Linked DNA regions of Homo sapiens: region 2 is linked to region 1. The links are contacts of gene promoters, found by promoter capture Hi-C in blood cells and fetal thymus (Javierre and others, 2016). All regions are on one chromosome and are shown on one strand. The core of a region is centred on a gene start or on the middle of the fragment in contact, and the rest is flanking DNA. Distances in the headings are between cores, read along the strand shown. Region 1 holds the start of BLOC1S4 (biogenesis of lysosomal organelles complex 1 subunit 4). Region 2 has its middle 11 kb from the start of LINC02482.

Region 1 (3,601 bases), core at 533-3,032:
CTCAGGAGGCTGAGGCAGGAGAATGGCGTGAACGCGGGAGGCGGAGCTTGCAGTGGGCCGAGATTGCGCCACTGCACTCCAGCCTGGGCGACAGAGCATGACTCCGTCTCAAAAAAAAAAAAAAAAAAAAAAAAGAAAAGAAATATACCATGCTCTGAAATAGAAGCTACAGCTTTTCACATTAGCTCTCTAAAGGAGGTATACTCAAGCCCCTTTTCTTTATCCCACTACTAAAAAAGCACATGAGCAGTACGTCTATTTCAAACACACACAAGGAAATACGTAAAGCTCTTTTCAGAAGGAAATCATTTCCAATAAAACTCAAAATTTCTATTAACATTTAAATTATAAACCAAACATTGGCAACCCACATATATATATACACACACACACACATATGTTTGCTATGGACAAATGAAGACTGTGAGGTCATACTTTCAAATACAACTTTGGAATTAGTCACAAAAAATCAACATATATTCTCAGAAATTGTACCATTTCCTTTGGTCTACAATCCACGCTATAGGAGGTTTAATATAATATTAAATAATGTACCATTTACCCTAAAAGTAGGTTCTAGAAAACTGACTATTAGGATTGAATAACAAGGCTTTAATGGCTCAATTTTCTTATGATTATACAAACATATAAATCTTGAAAAGGTAACGCCATTTAGTAAAATCCATAAAAATAACAGTTTTGCCACAGTGCAGAGAAAAGTTCATTCAGTTTGATTCCCCATGCCCTCGACAAGCAGCTTTCTGATTAGAGCTGGAAGACACAGGCTGGGTGCAGTGGCGACCCCGTAGTCCCAGCTACTGGGGAGGCTGAGGTGGAAGGATCACTTGAGCCCAGGAGTTTCCGAACAGTCTGGGCAACATACCAAGACCCTGTCTCTTTTTTTAAACTTGGAAGACATAAAGTCTATACATTCTACACTGAATCATGAATATACTACGGAGAGTTTGTAGAAAGTAAACTTTAAAATCCCACACTCCAACATCATATATGTCCATAAGCAGGATTTGCAATTCACTTCATACTGGAGGTAAGCACCCCAGCTGGGGTCCTCTTGCCGCAGTGGTCAGGCCGTCAGAGCTGAGGCCTTTCACTGCAACAAGGGAAGTAGTCTTCGGTCCGAAACAGGACGGGGGCTTCGTAGCCGGCTTGCTGTGGCCTCGAGGGAGCAGACTTGCTAAAGAGCGAGGGCACGTTCATCGTGTGCAGGAGCTTCTTGAACGCCCTGGGGAAGGTGCCCAGCTCGGCCTCGGCCTTGGTGACCTGCTCCTCCATCCTGGCCACGCGGCCCCCCACCATCCTCACGAAGGCCTCCAGCCGGTCGATCCTGCTGTAGATGCGCCGCATCTCGGCGGCCTTCGCGTGGATGCGCGGCACGCCCTCGCTGACGACGTGGGACGAGTCGCCGCGAAGCATGTCCAGCATGCCCACGAACTCGTCCACTCTGGTAAGCAGGTCCTCTAGGCTCGCGTCCAGGGCCTCGACCTCGGGCCGCGCCCCGGCCCCGGGCAGCAGGCAGGCGGCGTAGCCCGCAGCGGCGCGGCGAAGCAGCGGCAGGTCGCGGCCCGGCGCGCCGTCCTCCGCGCCCTCGTCCTCCCACGGCCCCGAGGCGCTGCTGTGGCTCTGGGAAACAGTGCCACTGTCCCCGCTCCAGGCGGCGCCCTGCGGCTCGGCCTCTTCCGCGAGCCCCTCCGGCAGCGCTCCGCCATCCGAAAAGCTACCCTCCATGGCCCGCGACCACCCGACTGCGCAGCGCTCGCTTCCGGCCTCCGCGCGCTCACGCTCACGCACCCGCACACGCACGCACGCGCGCTCACGCCTTTGCTTCCGGCGGCCTGCGAGGGCGTCTGTTCACGCGCATCCACCTTTGTTTCCGGCCTCCCAGCGCGCTCACGCTCACGCATGCGCGCTCACGCTCACGCATGCGCGCTGCTGTTTTCTCACGCCCGAACTCACATTCAACCTTTTTTTTCTTTTTTAAGCGAAGGTATAGCAGGAATACAATACAGTGCATACATTTTAAGTGTGCACATTGATGACTTTGTACACATCCATACAACCATGCATCTTCTATCCAGACCAACAGGTAGGACATGTCCAGCACCCATGAACGTCTCCCTCCTGTCCTTCATTTCTTTTTGCTGTTTATAGTAAAATAAATGAGATAAGCAAGACGAAACACAAAAGGGATGGACCTTGACGACTTTGGATGATTTTTAAAGTCCTCAGCTTCGCCTGATTGCAAATGGCGTAAAACTAAGAAATAGTAATAGTTTCCAAGCAAATATCAAATCCAGGGTACTGCCAGAAAAAAACAAAGGTGAAGTTGAGATGTGACGGTTAAATCCTTTAAAATCTCAAAAAAAAAAGCAAAGACGGTGCCTGAGAATACCATTCAGTTAGACTAACAGCTCCTTAAAGAGATTAATGGTGTGGCTCACAGAGTCCATCAGTCAAACCACAAGGCCTCCAGAAGGCTTAAGGCTTGTTCGTCAGTATTAGCAGAAGCCCAAGATAGAGATGGACTTATCTCAAAGGGATTTGTAGGTAGCACTTTTGTTTAACGGAGTGAACCCCGATGAGATTCACAGGAGACCTATAAAGTTTTTTAAAGATAATTATATTGACACAAACATTGCAGATTGGACTGAAAGGAACAGGCCTTTGGATCCCCTCTCCCCAAACTTGTACAAGCAGGAATCAGACTGAGAAAAAGACTCATTGGCAAACACATGCCACATTTCACAAAAAAGGAAGTATAACTCAGGGCATGAAACCAGGAGCCCAGATGGTGGAACTGGGAGTCATGGAGTCCTAGACCTTGAGACTGGATGGCAGAGTTACTGTGGGCTGGCAACTTGTTTGTACTTCCAATTTCCCCCTTTTTGAACAGGAGTGGCAGTGGCTAATCTAGTCGTAGTGGAGCAGAACAGGTCTGTAGTGATTATCCTGTGCCAGCCCCACAACTGTATATTCCAGGCATGGGGGCAGAGAACTTGTCTCCTTAGTTTCAAAAGTCTACAGATCAAGAAGAATTGTACTCTAGGAGCTGAATTTAAGGAACTAAGCTCAGAAAGCCTCATCTACATCTGATCTTATTGAGAAGACAAAATTCTGGACTTAAAGCTGATGTGACAATAGGATAGTAATACCTAAAACTACATGAGATTTAAAAAAATGTAACTTTTGGGGACCTTGGATAGAGGGGAGTGTGGTTAGCACGTTAAAATGGCATGAAGAATTGGTAGTCAGGGGGCAAACTGTGATTGCTAGCCAGCCTTCAAGATGACTCCCAGTGATTTCTTACTCCTGGTATTCTCACTCTTGTGTATTCCCTCTTGTCGAGTATGTACTGGACTTAGTGACTTCATTTGCTCATAATAAACTGAAAAACACAGAAGTGATGATGTATGATTTGGACATTAGTTCATGAAAGGTAGTGTGGCATCTCTTTCCTTCCAACCTGCGAAAGGAAGATAAATCTTGGGGTCCTACAATTACTAAGCTAAAAGAAAAGTCAAGTTGGAAACTGCTTAGGGCAAACCTGCCTCACATTCTATTCACAGTCACTTCTCCGCTCACT
Region 2 (3,601 bases), core at 1-2,500, 53 kb after region 1:
GGAGCTCCCCGAGCTCTGGCTTTACCAGGTCAAGGCCCCTGTCACGAGGCGCGCGCCCTCAGGAGGCGACAGGGGGGCGACCCCCGCTATGGCTTCAGGGCCCCACCCGGAGGCGAACATTCCCGGCTCTGGACGAGCACGGCACGCAGGACCCGGAACCCAGGGTCCCGGGCGCACCCGCCTCGCGGTCCCCTTCCGCATGTCCGCGCCCCCTCGCTCCAGGCCCAGGGTCGGCCAGGAGGGAACCCCGGCCGCAGGCTCAGGGAGGCTTGGGGCCGGGGACGGACGGCGCCGTGGGGCCCGGCGGCCAGCGGCCAGGGCGACTGTCCCACGCGCGGCTGCTTTCCGGGACTTGAGCTGGAAGAAAAAAATACGGACTCCTTAGAGGCCAAATAGGAAAAAGAATAAGCAGGTAACCCAAGCATAGGAGCGTTCAAGCTAGCCTTGGCTCTAACGGTGTCTACAAACCTTGGTGAACTTGAGCAGGCGACAGTCTAGAGCCTCAGAACGTTGGCAGCTATGGAGGACACATGGCTCAGACTGCCCTTTAGGAATGAAGGTCTTATTCCAGCTGCTGAGACAGCCCCAAGCCAGCAGCCATCTTCAGAGATTGTCACCCCATCCTTCCTGGGGCAGCTGCATTTGGTGATTGATCTCTGCAGAGGTAGAAAGCCCAGTCCTCTCACCCCAACGTGGGGAGGGCTCTGAAGAGCCATCAAACCGTCCTAGTTACCCATTGCTGCATAACACATTTTCGCAAAACTTAAAAGCTTAAAACAAACATTTATTACCTTACAGTTTCCATGGGTCAGGGAGCTGCGCAGGGCTTAGCTGGGTGCCTCTGGCTCAAGGTCTCTGGAGGTTGCAGTCAAGATGTTGGCTGGGCTACTGTAGTTTGAAAGCTCAACTGGGATGGTGAGGGGCGACCTTTTCGAAAATCAAGCCTGTGATTGTTGCCAGTCCTTGGTCCCAAACCGCACAGCCTTTACACTGGGTTGCTTCACAGCACGGTGTCTGCTATACCCGGGCTGAGCAATGCTGAGAGGGAGAGAGGGCGTACACGGTGGAAGCCAGGACATCCCACCGCTTCTGCAGAATTCTCCACTAGAAGCAAGTCAATAACTCTGGCCCACTCTCAAAACAGAGATTCTACAAAGACCTGAATGCCAGGTGGCAGGGATTGCTGAGGCCCATCTTAGAGGCTGCCTGTCACACCGTCTTCAGAACTCCCTAGAGAGTTGGCTGAAGCGTCTGCTGAACCTTCATCATAGCTAGACTTCTCCTTCGCCCCATCCTGGTTCTTTTCCTTCCCTCCCACAGGGGTGGATCCTAAGAGCACTCACTAATAACCTTCCTAACTAAATGACATTTCAGAGAATGCTTTGCTGCAACAGAAATCTACCCAGGGATCAGCCAACTGTGGCCCACTGACATAATATCAACTCATTTAATTTTCCTGATATCCCCATGAGGTAGCTACTCTTGAGTATACCCATTTTATAGAAGGGGTAAAGTGAGGTGAAGAGACTTGCGAAACATTACAAAGTGAGTCAGTCGGCAGTGGACCGGAGATTCAGCTGCAGTCTGGGCCACCTCATCCTTACTCCACCTTCCTCCTACATCTTACATGTCTACCAGCAGTACAGTGCCTTTTGTTACCCACCAAACATGTCACCACAGGACATATTTATATGTTTTCTGAAGGTTCCCTGCTCTAAAATGTAAGCTTCATCAGGGCGGTAACACTGTTCTATTTTAGAACAATAGCTGGCATATAAGATGCCCCTCAATAGAGTTACTGCCTGCATGTGTGACACCTGGCACGCTGTCTTTGAATTATTTTGTTGTCTTTACCACCAGGTCTCATGTCTGTATTCCTCCTCCAGGGTCTGGGCGCATCGTGTAGCCAGTGCTTTTGAACACAGGTACCTAGGGCCTGAAGTGTGCCAGTTTCTCTCTTACTCCAACCTCATTTCCATGCCTGGGGATTATCTGTTCTTCCAATTGCAGCTTCACTGAATGCATTATAACCCGCAGTTTACTGCATTTGAGGACAATGAGACAGACACTGTGATCTTCAGAAACATGTTTTATTTTCTTTTTCCTGGTGAAGTTTAAGGGCTTTGGTTCATTTGGATAAAAATAGGTTTTTAGGTTTTACATTTTTACAAGCAACAACCATTATTACATGTGGGTGTGCTGTTTTTGTTTTGTTGTTTTGTTTTCTGAGACAAGGTCTTGCTCTGTCACCCACAGGCTGGAGTGCAGTGACATGATCTCAGCTCATTGCAGCCTCAACCTCCCAGGCACAAGCGATCCTCCTGCCTCAGCCTCCTGAGTAGCTGGGATACAGGTGAGTGCCACCATGCCTGGCTAATTTTTTTTTTTTTTTTTGTAGAGTGGGGGGTCTCACCATGTTTCTCCAGCTGGTCTCAAACTCCTAGACTCAAGGAATTCTCCCACCTTGGTCTCCCAAAGTGCTGGGATTACAGGCATGAGCCACCACACCCAGCCACATATGGTATTTTAACCTCAAATCCCTGTGGGGTCTATTCAAATGGGCCTAACCAGGTAGGTTATGACCCCGTGAAGGAAGACCAAAGCGCCAGCACCACGATTGCTTCCCAGAGATCTTCAAGGCCCTTTTCAGACTTCTCTTCTTCTACGCCCCACAGGGCCTGAAATGCACTAGGGAGATCCTTCAAGGAAGCTGACCCTAAGTCAAACCACAGACAAAACACAAGAAAGCACTCCATCATATGTAGGTTTCAAGTCAAATTAGACGTAGCTAGTTGTCCAAACTGACCTGCGAAGTCACACAATGTGCACCAAATGACATGATTTAACTTAAGAGGAAAAATCTCATCTGTTCTCACAGAGAAAGTTCTAAACTGCATACAAAACTGTCTTCCACCTCATTTCCCAGGGGCATCTTCCAATGGAACAGGTGGAGCTCCTTCAACAACTCTGTGGTTTGAGGACTGACACAAGTTTCCTGCTTGTCCCAAAGTGTCCAACAGTGATTAGGTCCCATGTGACATAGCAAAATGCACAGAAGCAGGAAAAGTTAAAACTATTGAGAAATTCCAAAAACAAAAAATAAGACCAACCATCTCATCAATAGACAATCGTGATGAAAATTTCTTCTTCTTCGGCTGGGCGTGGTGGCTCACACCTGTAGTCCCAGCACTTTGGGAGGCCGAGGTGGGTGGATCATGAGGTCAAGAGATCAAGACCATGCTGGCTAACATGGTGAAAACCCATCTCTACTAAAAAGGCAAAAATTAGCTGGGCGTGATGGTGCATGCCTGTGGTCCCACCTACTCGGGAGACTGAGGCAGGAGAATCGCTTGAACCCAGGAGGAGGAGGTTGCAATGAGCAGAGATTGCGCCACTGCACTCCAGCCTAGCAACAGGGTGAGACTCCGTCTCAAAAAAAAAAAAAATTCTTTCTCCTCCTCCTCCTCCTTCTTCTTCTATCTCCTCCTCCTCCTTCTCCTCCTCCTCCTTCTCTTCCTTCTCCTCCTTCTCCTTCTCTTCCTTCTCCTTCTCCTCCTCCTTCTTTCTCCTCCTCCTTCTCCTCCTCCTCATCCTTCTCCTC

What was found. The method cuts DNA at HindIII sites, captures the fragments that hold promoters and counts their contacts. A CHiCAGO score of 5 or more calls a contact.
Region 2: a fragment that was not itself captured here is called in contact with the fragment with the promoter of BLOC1S4 in region 1 in 7 of 17 cell types (naive CD8 T cells, naive CD4 T cells, fetal thymus and 4 more); the score reaches 11.2 in naive CD8 T cells.

What each region holds. Positions count from the first base shown.
Region 1 is chr4:6,714,355-6,717,955 of GRCh38, reverse strand. It overlaps BLOC1S4 (biogenesis of lysosomal organelles complex 1 subunit 4), which reads right to left and starts at 1,782. Exons shown (of 1, transcript NM_018366.3): 1 at 292-1,782. The coding sequence starts at 1,746. The coding sequence ends at 1,093. RefSeq lists enhancers at 741-1,380, 1,863-2,062 and a silencer at 1,533-1,582. The HindIII fragment of the contact is 17,705 bases long and covers 1-3,601 here.
Region 2 is chr4:6,660,692-6,664,292 of GRCh38, reverse strand. No RefSeq gene overlaps it. Among named protein-coding and RNA genes, the nearest start is that of LINC02482, 11 kb to the left of the region's middle. The HindIII fragment of the contact is 956 bases long and covers 773-1,728 here.